Linked DNA regions of Homo sapiens: regions 1 and 3 are each linked to region 2. Evidence: promoter capture Hi-C in human tissues and cell types (Jung and others, 2019). All regions are on one chromosome and are shown on one strand. Each heading gives the region's core, a stretch centred on a gene start or on the middle of the fragment in contact. The rest is flanking DNA. Distances are from core to core; before and after follow the strand shown. Region 1 overlaps ZNF563 (zinc finger protein 563). Region 2 holds the start of ZNF69 (zinc finger protein 69). Region 3 overlaps LOC124904638 (a long non-coding RNA gene).

Region 1 (3,235 bases), core at 284-2,783, 430 kb before region 2:
GTCCTTTTTTAAAAATGACATATTTGGTACAAAATTACCCGGATGTGATGGCACATGCCTGTAATCCCAGCTACTCAGGAGGCTGAGGCAGGATAATCACTTGAATCCGGGAGGCGGAGGTTGCGGTGAGCCAAGATCGCGCCACTGCACTCCAGCCTGGGCAGCAAGAGCAAAACAACCTCTGTCACACACACAAAAAAAAAAAAAAAGGAAAGAAAGAAAAGACATATTTGGGTTAGACACAGTTGCTCACCTCTGTAATCCTAGCACCTTAGGAGCCCAAGACAGGTGGATCACTTGAGCCCAGGAGTTAGAGGCCAGCCTGGGTAATGTGGCAAAACCCTGTCTCTACAGAAGATACACAAATTAGCCAGGTGTGGTGACATGTACCTGTAGTCCCAGCTACTAGGGAAGCTGAGGTGGGAGGATCGCTTGAGCCTGGGAGGTTGAGGTTGCGGTGAGTCAAAATCACATCACTGCATTCTAGCATGGGCAACAGAATGAGACCCTGTCTCAAAAAAATAATAACAATAAAAAATATTTGCATGTAACCTACCCACATCCTCCTGTATACTCTAAATCATCTGTAGATTAGTTAAAATACATCATGCATCATAGAAGCTATGTAAATAGTTGTTATTATATTGTTTAGTGAATCATGATATGAGAAAGACCCTACACATATTCAGTACAGACCCACCCACATAATACATGTCACCTAGAGCATTATAAATCTTTTCTTTCAACACTCATAGATTGCTTTTGTTTAATGACCTGAAAATGTGTTAACATTCACCCAACAAAAGTGTAATGATGATTATTGCAATATCGTGCCTAATGTTGTGATGTGTTGAGTCAGCTAGATGTGTGACACCACAGATAAGCAGTGAGACCTCAGGCTAACTCGAATCTTGACAGGATGTCAACATGATCAACTATATTGGAAGAAACAGATTCTGACTGCAGATACTGAATTTTTGGAGCAGTCTAAATAATACTAATGTCAGAATCTGTTCAATTTGAGGACTGAAGATCTTTAAGCATTGAAGGCTGTCTTCATATTTGCAGATATTTAATTAGAAACATTGTAGGAAGCTAGTTTTTTTTTTTTTAAACTTTGCAACGTTTGTGAGCATGTAATCTCTGGGGTGACATGGAGGCTTTGTTCCATGGAAGAATCTTAATTGAGGATGATAATCTTTAACACTTGCGCCTTGTAGAAGCTGTAGGTGCCCTAAAACTGCTTCCAATTTTTCTTTTTTTTTCTTTTTCTTTTCTTTTTTTTTTTTTTTAAGACAAGATCTCACTCTGTCACCCTACAGTGCATGGCTCACTGCAGCCTCAACTTCCTGGGCTCAAGTGATCTTCCCACCTCAGCCTCCCAAGTAGCTGGGATTATAGGCACACATCACGATGCCTGGCTACTTTTTGTGTTTTTTGTGGAGACAAGGTTTCACCATGTTTCCCAGGCTGGTCTTGAACTCCTGGAATCAAGAGATCTGCCTGCCTTGGCCTCCCAAATTACTAGGATTACAGGGTGAGCCACCACACCCAGCCTTCAGATTTTTCAAGTATCAAAATCTATAGCACTGCTTCTTTTTTTTTTTTTCAGACAGAGTCTCACTCTGTCGCTGAGGCTGAAGTGCAGTGGTGCAATCTCAGCTCACTGCAGCCTCCACCTCCCAGGTTCAAGTGATCCTCCTGCATCAGCCACCTGAGGAGCTGGGATTACAATCTCAGCTCACTGCAACCTCCACCTCCCAAGTTCAAGTGATCCTCCTGCCTCAGCCACCCAAGTAGCTGGGAATACAGGCATGCACCACCATGCCCAGCTAATTTTTGTATTTTTAGTAGAGACAGGGTTTCGCCATGTTTGCCAAGCTGGTTTTGAACTCCCTGTGACTTCAAGTGATCTGCCTGCCTTGGCCTCTCAGAATGCTGGGATTACAGGCATGAGCCACCACTTATGGCACTGCCTCTTTATTTATTTATTGAGACTGAGTCTCACTCTGTCACCCAGGCTGGAGTGCAGTGGCACGATCTCGGCTCACTGCAAACACTGCCTCCTGGGTTCAAGCGATTCTCATGCCTCAGCCTCCCAAGTAGCTGGGATTACAGGTGCCCGCCACCACACCCAGCTAATTTTTGTATTTTTAGTAGAGACGGGGTTTCACCATGTTGGCCAGGCTGGTCTTAAACTCGTGACCTCAGGTGATTCACCCGCTTCGGCCTCCCAAACTGTTGGGATTACAGGCGTGAGCCACCACGCCTGGCGGCACTGCCTCTTCTAAATCTACATCATCATCATCATCATCTATAGAGGATTTCAGCATATCTTCTAGTTCCTTGTTAGTAAAGGTTTCTTCTTTGCTCTTCTGTGTGTTCCTCAACATTGTCTTCACTTGTGTCAGAGATAGCCTTCCCCACCAACTTTCCTTACATTTAAGATATTTCTGACTATCATATCGATAGTGCAGAAGCGCCTGAAATCATTGACTTCCTCACTCCATAATGGCTTCCAACACACTTTGGCTGTCTTGAGCTGTAGGGCATTTACAGCCTCCGCAATAAACACAATCGTTTCTGCAGTTGGGAAGCTCTTCCATAAATCCTGTATGACATGGTGAGGGTTATTATCAAGACAGCATAAATCCTTCCAAAAGTCCAGTGGGTGTAAGACACCTTGAGGCACTTGATGATGCTTTGATCAAGTAGTTGTAGCAGTGATGTAGTTTTAGGAGGCAGGAACATCACTTCCCCATTTTTATCGGCATAACAGAGAGAAGAGAGATGCCAGGAGCGTTGTCAGTTATGAGGAGGGCCTTGAGTGGCAGCCCCTTCTTTTCAAGGTATTCATTCACATCAGGAATGAAGCAGTGGTAGAACCAAGTCCTCGTGTGTTTTTGTCAGGACACGGGCAGGCAAGTTTCGCTTTTGTTTTCAAGGACCCACGGATTGTTTACTTAGTAGAGGAGGCTTTGTTTGATCTTATGACCTGCTGCATTGCCACGTAGCACCAGAGTAAGGCAATCTTTCCAAGTCATGAACCCCAAGGCTTTCTTTGTACTCTTGTGATGAAGGTACAATTGGGCATCCTCTTCCAGAACATGCCTGATTCATTACAATGGAGGATTTGCTCTGGAAGTTAGCCTCTTTTTTTTTTTTTTTTTTAATGAGTTTCATGAGCTTTTCTAGGAATGCTGATGTTTCCTTTGCATCAGCCAAGGCCAATTCT
Region 2 (3,344 bases), core at 18-2,517:
AATCCCTCAACCACCTGTGCCTTCTAACCCCCCTTCCACAGGTCCCGCCCTTTCTGTTTTTTGTTTTTGTTTTTGTTTTGAGACAGAGTCGCACTCTGTGCTGAGGCTGGAGTGCAGTGGCACTGTGTGGGCTCACTGCAACCTGTCTCCTGGATTCAAGTAATTCTCTTGTCTCAGCCTCCCGAGTAGCTGGGATTACAGGCGTCCACCATCACGCCCGGCTAGTTTCTTTTTTATATTTTTAGTAGAGACGGGGTTTCACCATGTTGGCCAGGCTGGTCTTGAACTCCTGACCTCAGGTGATCCGCCCGCCTTGGCCTCCCAAAGTGCTGGAATTACAAGCGTGAGCCACCGTGCCCGGCCAGGTCCCTCCCTTTCTGCCTAAGGAAATTACACCTTCCAGGCACTAATTCATGATTTTCCCTGCAATTCCTGTCTCTCTAAAATGAATAAAACCAAACTGTCTTGAGCCGCCTCGGGACCACTTACTCCAGGCTTCTTGGGGTTGTTTTTCCCTCGGCCAAGGTCTCTCCTATTCGGCTCCGAATAAACTTCTTTATTTTACATAGTTTGGCTTTTTCCGTTGACAAACCACAAGCCAGGACTGGGTGTGTCTCATTCGTGAATCGCTGTTTGCTCAAATGAACTCTTTGTTAACGTTCCTCAGTTTAATTTTTAACAGGAGAAAAAGTGGACACTGGGGGCCCCACAGACCGCTGCTCCTCCCAAGCACGAACCCCACACCCGAGTCGGGATCACCCACATGACCCTCCCGTGGCCCCCGCACAATCTGGGTAGACGCGTGGCTGCGGGCGCGGAGCTGCCCATAGAGGGCTCTGGAACCGCAGTCGCCGCGCAGAGACGAGACAGGACGCCTGGTGTCCCGGCTACCGGCCCAGCCACACCGAGCAGTCGAGGGGACCGAGGGCCGAGCGGCTCCAGGAGGACTCGGTCCCAGATCCCAAAGTCGCCCGCAGGAAAGCCAGGGTCTCGCCACAGTCGGTTCCGGTCGGTCCAGGCAGCCCCTCCCCCGTCTCACGACACCCGGCCCCAGACACGCACCATTTCCTGGCTTTCAGATGTCCCGGGGTCCTCTCTACACCTCCTGTGACTACAGCAGGGCATAGCGTAGGTGACAGAGTGACAGAAGCCTGGGCAGAGGAACCAGGTCCCTCTCGGGGCTGGAAAGACCGGATCCCAGCCGCAGCCCGCGCAGGGACAAAGGTGAGGTAAGGAATGCGACCCCCTCAGTGTCTGGAGGAACAGTGGGCAGGGACCCGCCACAATGCCTCTGATTGGATGGAATGCTAGGCCCCGCCCCCCATGTCTGAGTGACAGCGGAAGCCCTGGGTATCGGGCCCTGCAGAGCCAGACAGACGGATTCTGACCACAGCTTTTCCAAGGGCGAGCTCCTTCCTGCACTCTGGTTATTGGATATTTGCATTTCAGCCAAACTTGCTATTGATAGAGGAGAACACTAGCGTCTTCCTCACTCAAGGGACTGTCCCTGCTCCTTCGTTCTGCATGGGGTCACAGGAGTGTGCAGGGAATTTCAGATTCAGTGTCCACAGGAGCCATCTCCTGCCTCAGAGCAGCAGGGGAACCGAGACCAGGCCAGACACGACTGCGCCAGGAGGAGAGGCATATGTCTTGGAGCGGGCCGCAACTGGGGATGAGGCATGGCTAAGACTTGCTCTCACACCCCCATCCCCTCCTCACAGTGTGAAAATGCTTCCTCCTTCCAGATCTTCATTTTCACCAGCAGGAAACTCTCTCCAGGGGTTAAGTTAAGCTTTTGACCTAAATAAACTGCCAACTTCATGAACCCTTTATCCAGGTGACGCTCCCAAACATTTCTGTCTCTAGCCTGATCTTCACACATTTTCTTTTCTTTTTTTTTTGAGACAGAGCCTCGCTCTGTCCCCCCAGGCTGGAGTGCAGTGGTGCAATCTCCACTCACTGCAACCTCCGCCTCCTGGGTTCAAGTGATTCTCCTGCCTCAGCCTCCCCAGCAGCTAGGATTACAGGCACATGCCACCGCGCCTGGCTAATTTTTTGTATTTTTAGTAGAGACAAGGTTTCACCATGTTGACCAGACTGGTCTTGAACTCCTGACCTCAAGTGATCCACCCGCCTCGGCCACCCAAAGTGCTGGGATTACAGGCGTGAGCCACCGCGCCTGGCCCACATTTTCTTTATATATATGAATATCTCTGTCGGATATAAAATGCTTTAGGAATAAATTCTTGGTCCCACGAAGTAAAACTAGCACTTAGGGGAAAGTTTCATTTGTTTAGCAAGGCAATTTACTTCTGCAGAAGTGTGCCACTTGTGTCAATCAAGATCACAAGAGCACAGAGAACAAAGGTCACCGGGGGTTTTTTTATCCTTAATGCGGTCCCTATCTCTGTGTCACTCCTTCATGGGCTGGGGTTCGACCACACAATCTGAGCTGACCCGACTGGCTACTTGTACGTATTTTTCTAAATATAGAAGGAGAGGGGAACGTGAGGTACAGAGATGGAGCGTGTGAGACGTGCAGTTTCGGGGGAACAATGGGTACAGGTAACCAAGGGAACAGATGTGAGTTATTGATTAGAGCTGACGGGAAGGGGGTAGGCTGTTTTACAGTAACTAGGGGCAAGGAGGAACAGGAAAGTTGAGCTGGAGAACAAAAGACAAGGAAGTTAGCAGGCTAAGTCTTTGAAGAGAAACTCAGAGAGGCCAGGCGCGGTGGCTCACGCCTGTAATCGCAGCACTTTGGGAGGCTGAGGCGGGTAGATCACGAGGTCAGGAGATCGAGACCATCCTGGCTAACATGGTGAAACCCCGTCTCTACTAAAAAATACGAAAAATTAGCCAGTCGTGGTGGTGGGCGCCTGTAGTCCCAGCTACTCGGGAGGCTGAGGCAGGAGAATGGCATGAACCCAGGAGGCAGAGCTTGCAGTGAGCCGAGATCACGCCACTGCACTCCAGCCTGGGTGACAGAGTGAGACTCCGTCTCAAAAAAAAAAAAAAAAAGAAACTCAGAGAAATTTACTGTATGTTACAATTCCTCCCTTTTAATTTTCTTATGATTTTTTCTCTTTAAACTTTTTTAACGTGTTTTGGCTTTGCTGTTTGATTTGATCTTTTAAAAGGAAAAGCTTACTTGAATAAGGTGGAGGAGAACTAAGGGAGGTTTCAGTAAATGCTGTTCGTACAATCCTTTGTATTAGCCTACGGATGCATGGTATGACACAACGCCTAACAAGAATAAGTACACCTGTTACGACTGTAAAAGAAATAAGTATTGAGGCTATGATTCTTTATTGACTGAACTACTTTCCTAGCCATCTTGAAAT
Region 3 (3,249 bases), core at 5-2,504, 300 kb after region 2:
GGGACTACAGATACACCCCACCATGCCTGGATAATTTTTTTAAACTTTTTGTAGAGACAGAGTCTTGCTATGTTGGCCAGGCTGGTCTTGAACTCCTAGGCTCAAGTGATCCTCCAACCGCAGCTTCCCAAAGTGTTGGGATTACAGGCATGAGTCACTGCACCTGGCCTCCATCCCTATTTAAAACAAAAAAAGAAAAAAGAAAGAAAGAAAACCAAACCAAACCAAAAAAAAACGTTGTCACGGATGACCTTGGCCGGAGGGTAAGCAGTTGGTGGTGCAGGAGGCATTGCTGACGATCATGAGGTTTTTGTATCTCTCATGGTTCATGTCCATCACAAACATGGGGGCATGGGCAGAGGGGGCAGAGATGGTGATCCCTTTGGCTGCCCATCCTAAGCGAGCCCCAGCCTTCCCCATGGTCGTGAAGATGCTGCTGGTGGACTCCATGACATAACCAGTGCCAGCATCGTCACCCAATTTGATTTTGCTGGGATCTGGCTTCTAGAAGATGGGGATGAGATTCCCATTTCCTATTGATGACAAGCTTCCCTTCTCTTTCTCAGTCTTTTCTTTTCTTTTTTTTTTTTTTTAAGAGAGAGAGGATCTCCCTATGTTGCCTAGGCTGGTCCTGAACTCCTGGTCTCAAGTGATCCTCCCACCTCAACCTCCTAAGTAGCTGAGATTACAAGCATGAGCCACCACACCCAGCCCACTTCTCAGCTTTGATGGTGCCGCGGAACTTGCCGTGGGTAGAATCATATTGGAACATGTAGACCATGTAGTTGAGGTCAATGAAGGGGTCATTGAGGTGACAACATCCATTCTGCCAGAGTTAAAAGCAGCTCTGGTGCCCTGGTGACCAGGCACCCAATATGGCCAAATCCATTTACTCCTGTCTTCACTTTCACCACGGTGTCTCGGGGACATGCCTTTTTCACTGCATGAAAAGATGTGGCTGTCTGTCAAATGGGAGGAGCAGAGAGGCTCTGCCTTTTTAATCTTTAAGAAAAAAAATTCAGGCTGGGCATGGTGGCTCACGCCTGTAATCCCAGCACCTTGGGAGGCCAAGGCAGGCGGATCACAAGGTCAGGAGATCCAGACCATCCTTACTAACATGGTGAAACCCCGTCTCTACTAAAAAATACAAAAAATTAGCTGGGCGTGGTGGCGGGCACCTGTAGTCCCAGCTACTTGGGAGGCTGAGGCAGGAGAATGGCGTGAACCCGGGAGGCGGAGCTTGCAGTGAGCCAAGATCGCGCCACTGCACTCCAGCCTGGGTGATGGAGCAAGACTCTGTCTCAAATAATAATAATAATAATAATTTAGATGGGGTCTCACTGTGTCACCCAGGCTTGTCTCAAACTCCTGGGCTCCAGTGATCCACCCACCTCAACCTCCCAAAGTGCTGGGATTACAGGTGTGAGCCACCACACCCGGCCTATTATTATTATTTGAGACAGTCTTGCTCTTGTCGCCCAGGCTGGAGTGCAGTGGCACGATCTTGGCTCACTGCAACCTCTGCTTCCCGGGTTCAAGCGATTCTCCTGCCTCAGCCTCCCGAGTAGCTGGGATTACAGGTGGCTGCCACCACGCCCAGCTAATTTTTTTTGTATTTTTAGTAGAGATGGGGTTTCACCTTGTTGGTCAGGCTGGTCTCAAACACCTGACCTCAGGTGATCCGCCCACCTCAGCCTCCCAAAGTGCTGGGATTACAGGCGTGAGCCACTGCTCCTGGCCCTGTCTTTTAATTTTTAAAGGGTAGGGGGCACCATGACCCATCTTTGCCCACCTAAACCACCTATTCAGCAGCCCATGCCCCGCAGCCCACAGCTGGGGGACATCATGCAAAATCTAAGTCAGATCTGTCCCTCTGATCAGAACCCTCTGTGGCTCCCACCTTACCCAGATAAAAGCCCCCTTCCCTGCAGCCCCCAAGAGCACACGCAACCTGCCCCACCCACACCCTTCTCTGTTCCTTGCCCTTGACCTTGCAGACTCAACCTTCCGGATTCACTTCCCCCTTGCTCACTCTGCTCCAGCCACAAAAGCCAATTTTTGGTTCCTCAAATCAAACTAACTCATGACAGCATTTTGAATTTTGAAGCCTTGGGGCCCCGAAAAAGTCCATCTTTTTTTTTTTTTTTTAAGATCGAGTCTCACTGTGTTGCCCAGGCTGGAGTGCGGTGGTGTGATCTCGACTCACTGCAACCTCTGCCTCCCTGGTTCAAGCAATTCTCCGGCCTCAGCCTCCCAAGTAGCTGGGATTACAGGTGCTCGCTGCCATGCCCAGCTAATTTTTTTGTATTTTAGTAGAGAAAGGGTTTCACCTTGTTGCCTAGGCTGATCTTGAACTCCTGAACTCAGGCAATCTGTCTGCCTCAGCCTCCCAAAGTGCTGGGATTACAGGCGTGAGCCACTGCGCCCGGCCCAAAAATCCATCTTTGTGGGTTCCTTTGTAAATGTGTAGTCAATTTAGAAATTTAGAAACACGGTTTCCCTTAAGCCTTTATTTAGTTACAATCACAACTAACATGTTACTTATACACCTGGCAAAGTGAAACATCAAAAAATTAATTCAGGGCCTGGCCTCAGGCCTGTAATCCCAGCACTTTGGGATGCCAAGGCAGACGGATCACTTGAGGTCAGGAGAATCGCTTGAACCTGGGAGACGGAGGTTGGGACGAGCTGAAGATCACACCACTGCGCTCCAGCTTGGGTGACAGAGTGAGTGAGACTCCATCTCAACAAAAAGAAAAAGAAATATCACTTTAAGAGGTCATTGGATGCATATTTGGGTCCGTTTATAAGTTTAGTGGATTGAAATTAACATTTTACATTTTATAAGTGTGATGCATTTTATTCTATACTCTTTTACTACTATAATAATAATTATTATTATTAATTTTTTTTTTGAGATGGAGTCTCGCTCTGTCACCCAAGCCGGATGGAGTGCAGTGGCGCGATCTTGGCTCACTGCAAGCTCCACCTCCCAGGTTCATGCCATTCTCCTGCCTCAGCCTCCCGAGTAGCTGGGACTACAGGCGCCCACCACCACGCCCAGCTAATTTTTTTGTATTTTTAGTAGAGACGGGGTTTCACCGTGTTAGCCATGTTGCTCTCGATCTCCTGACCTCGTGATCCGCCCGCCTCGGCCTCCCAAAGTGATGGGATTACAGGCGTGAGCCACTGCGCCCGGTCAATTATTATTATTTTTTAGAGACAGTGTATCAGCTCTGTCACCCAGAC

What was found. The method cuts DNA at HindIII sites, captures the fragments that hold promoters and counts their contacts. A contact is called where the count stands out against the background at its distance.
Region 1: a contact is called between a fragment that was not itself captured here and the fragment with the promoter of ZNF69 in region 2, in 1 of the 25 tissues and cell types used here (dorsolateral prefrontal cortex).
Region 3: a contact is called between a fragment that was not itself captured here and the fragment with the promoter of ZNF69 in region 2, in 2 of the 25 tissues and cell types used here (dorsolateral prefrontal cortex and pancreas).

Annotation. Positions count from the first base shown.
Region 1 is chr19:12,314,451-12,317,685 of GRCh38, reverse strand. It overlaps ZNF563 (zinc finger protein 563), which reads left to right. Exons shown (of 4, transcript NM_145276.3): 4 at 1-209. Among named protein-coding and RNA genes, the nearest start is that of ZNF563, 18 kb to the left of the region's middle. The HindIII fragment of the contact is 6,161 bases long and covers 1-3,235 here.
Region 2 is chr19:11,885,705-11,889,048 of GRCh38, reverse strand. ZNF69 (zinc finger protein 69) reads right to left here and starts at 1,267. Exons shown (of 4, transcript NM_001364730.1): 1 at 1,063-1,267. The coding sequence starts at 1,125. RefSeq lists an enhancer at 1,021-1,070. The HindIII fragment of the contact is 10,336 bases long and covers 1-2,469 here.
Region 3 is chr19:11,582,911-11,586,159 of GRCh38, reverse strand. LOC124904638 (a long non-coding RNA gene) reads right to left here. Exons shown (of 2, transcript XR_007067140.1): 2 at 2,496-2,743. It also overlaps the pseudogene GAPDHP76. Among named protein-coding and RNA genes, the nearest start is that of ACP5, 6.9 kb to the right of the region's middle. RefSeq lists enhancers at 2,066-2,125, 2,136-2,275. The HindIII fragment of the contact is 7,524 bases long and covers 1-3,249 here.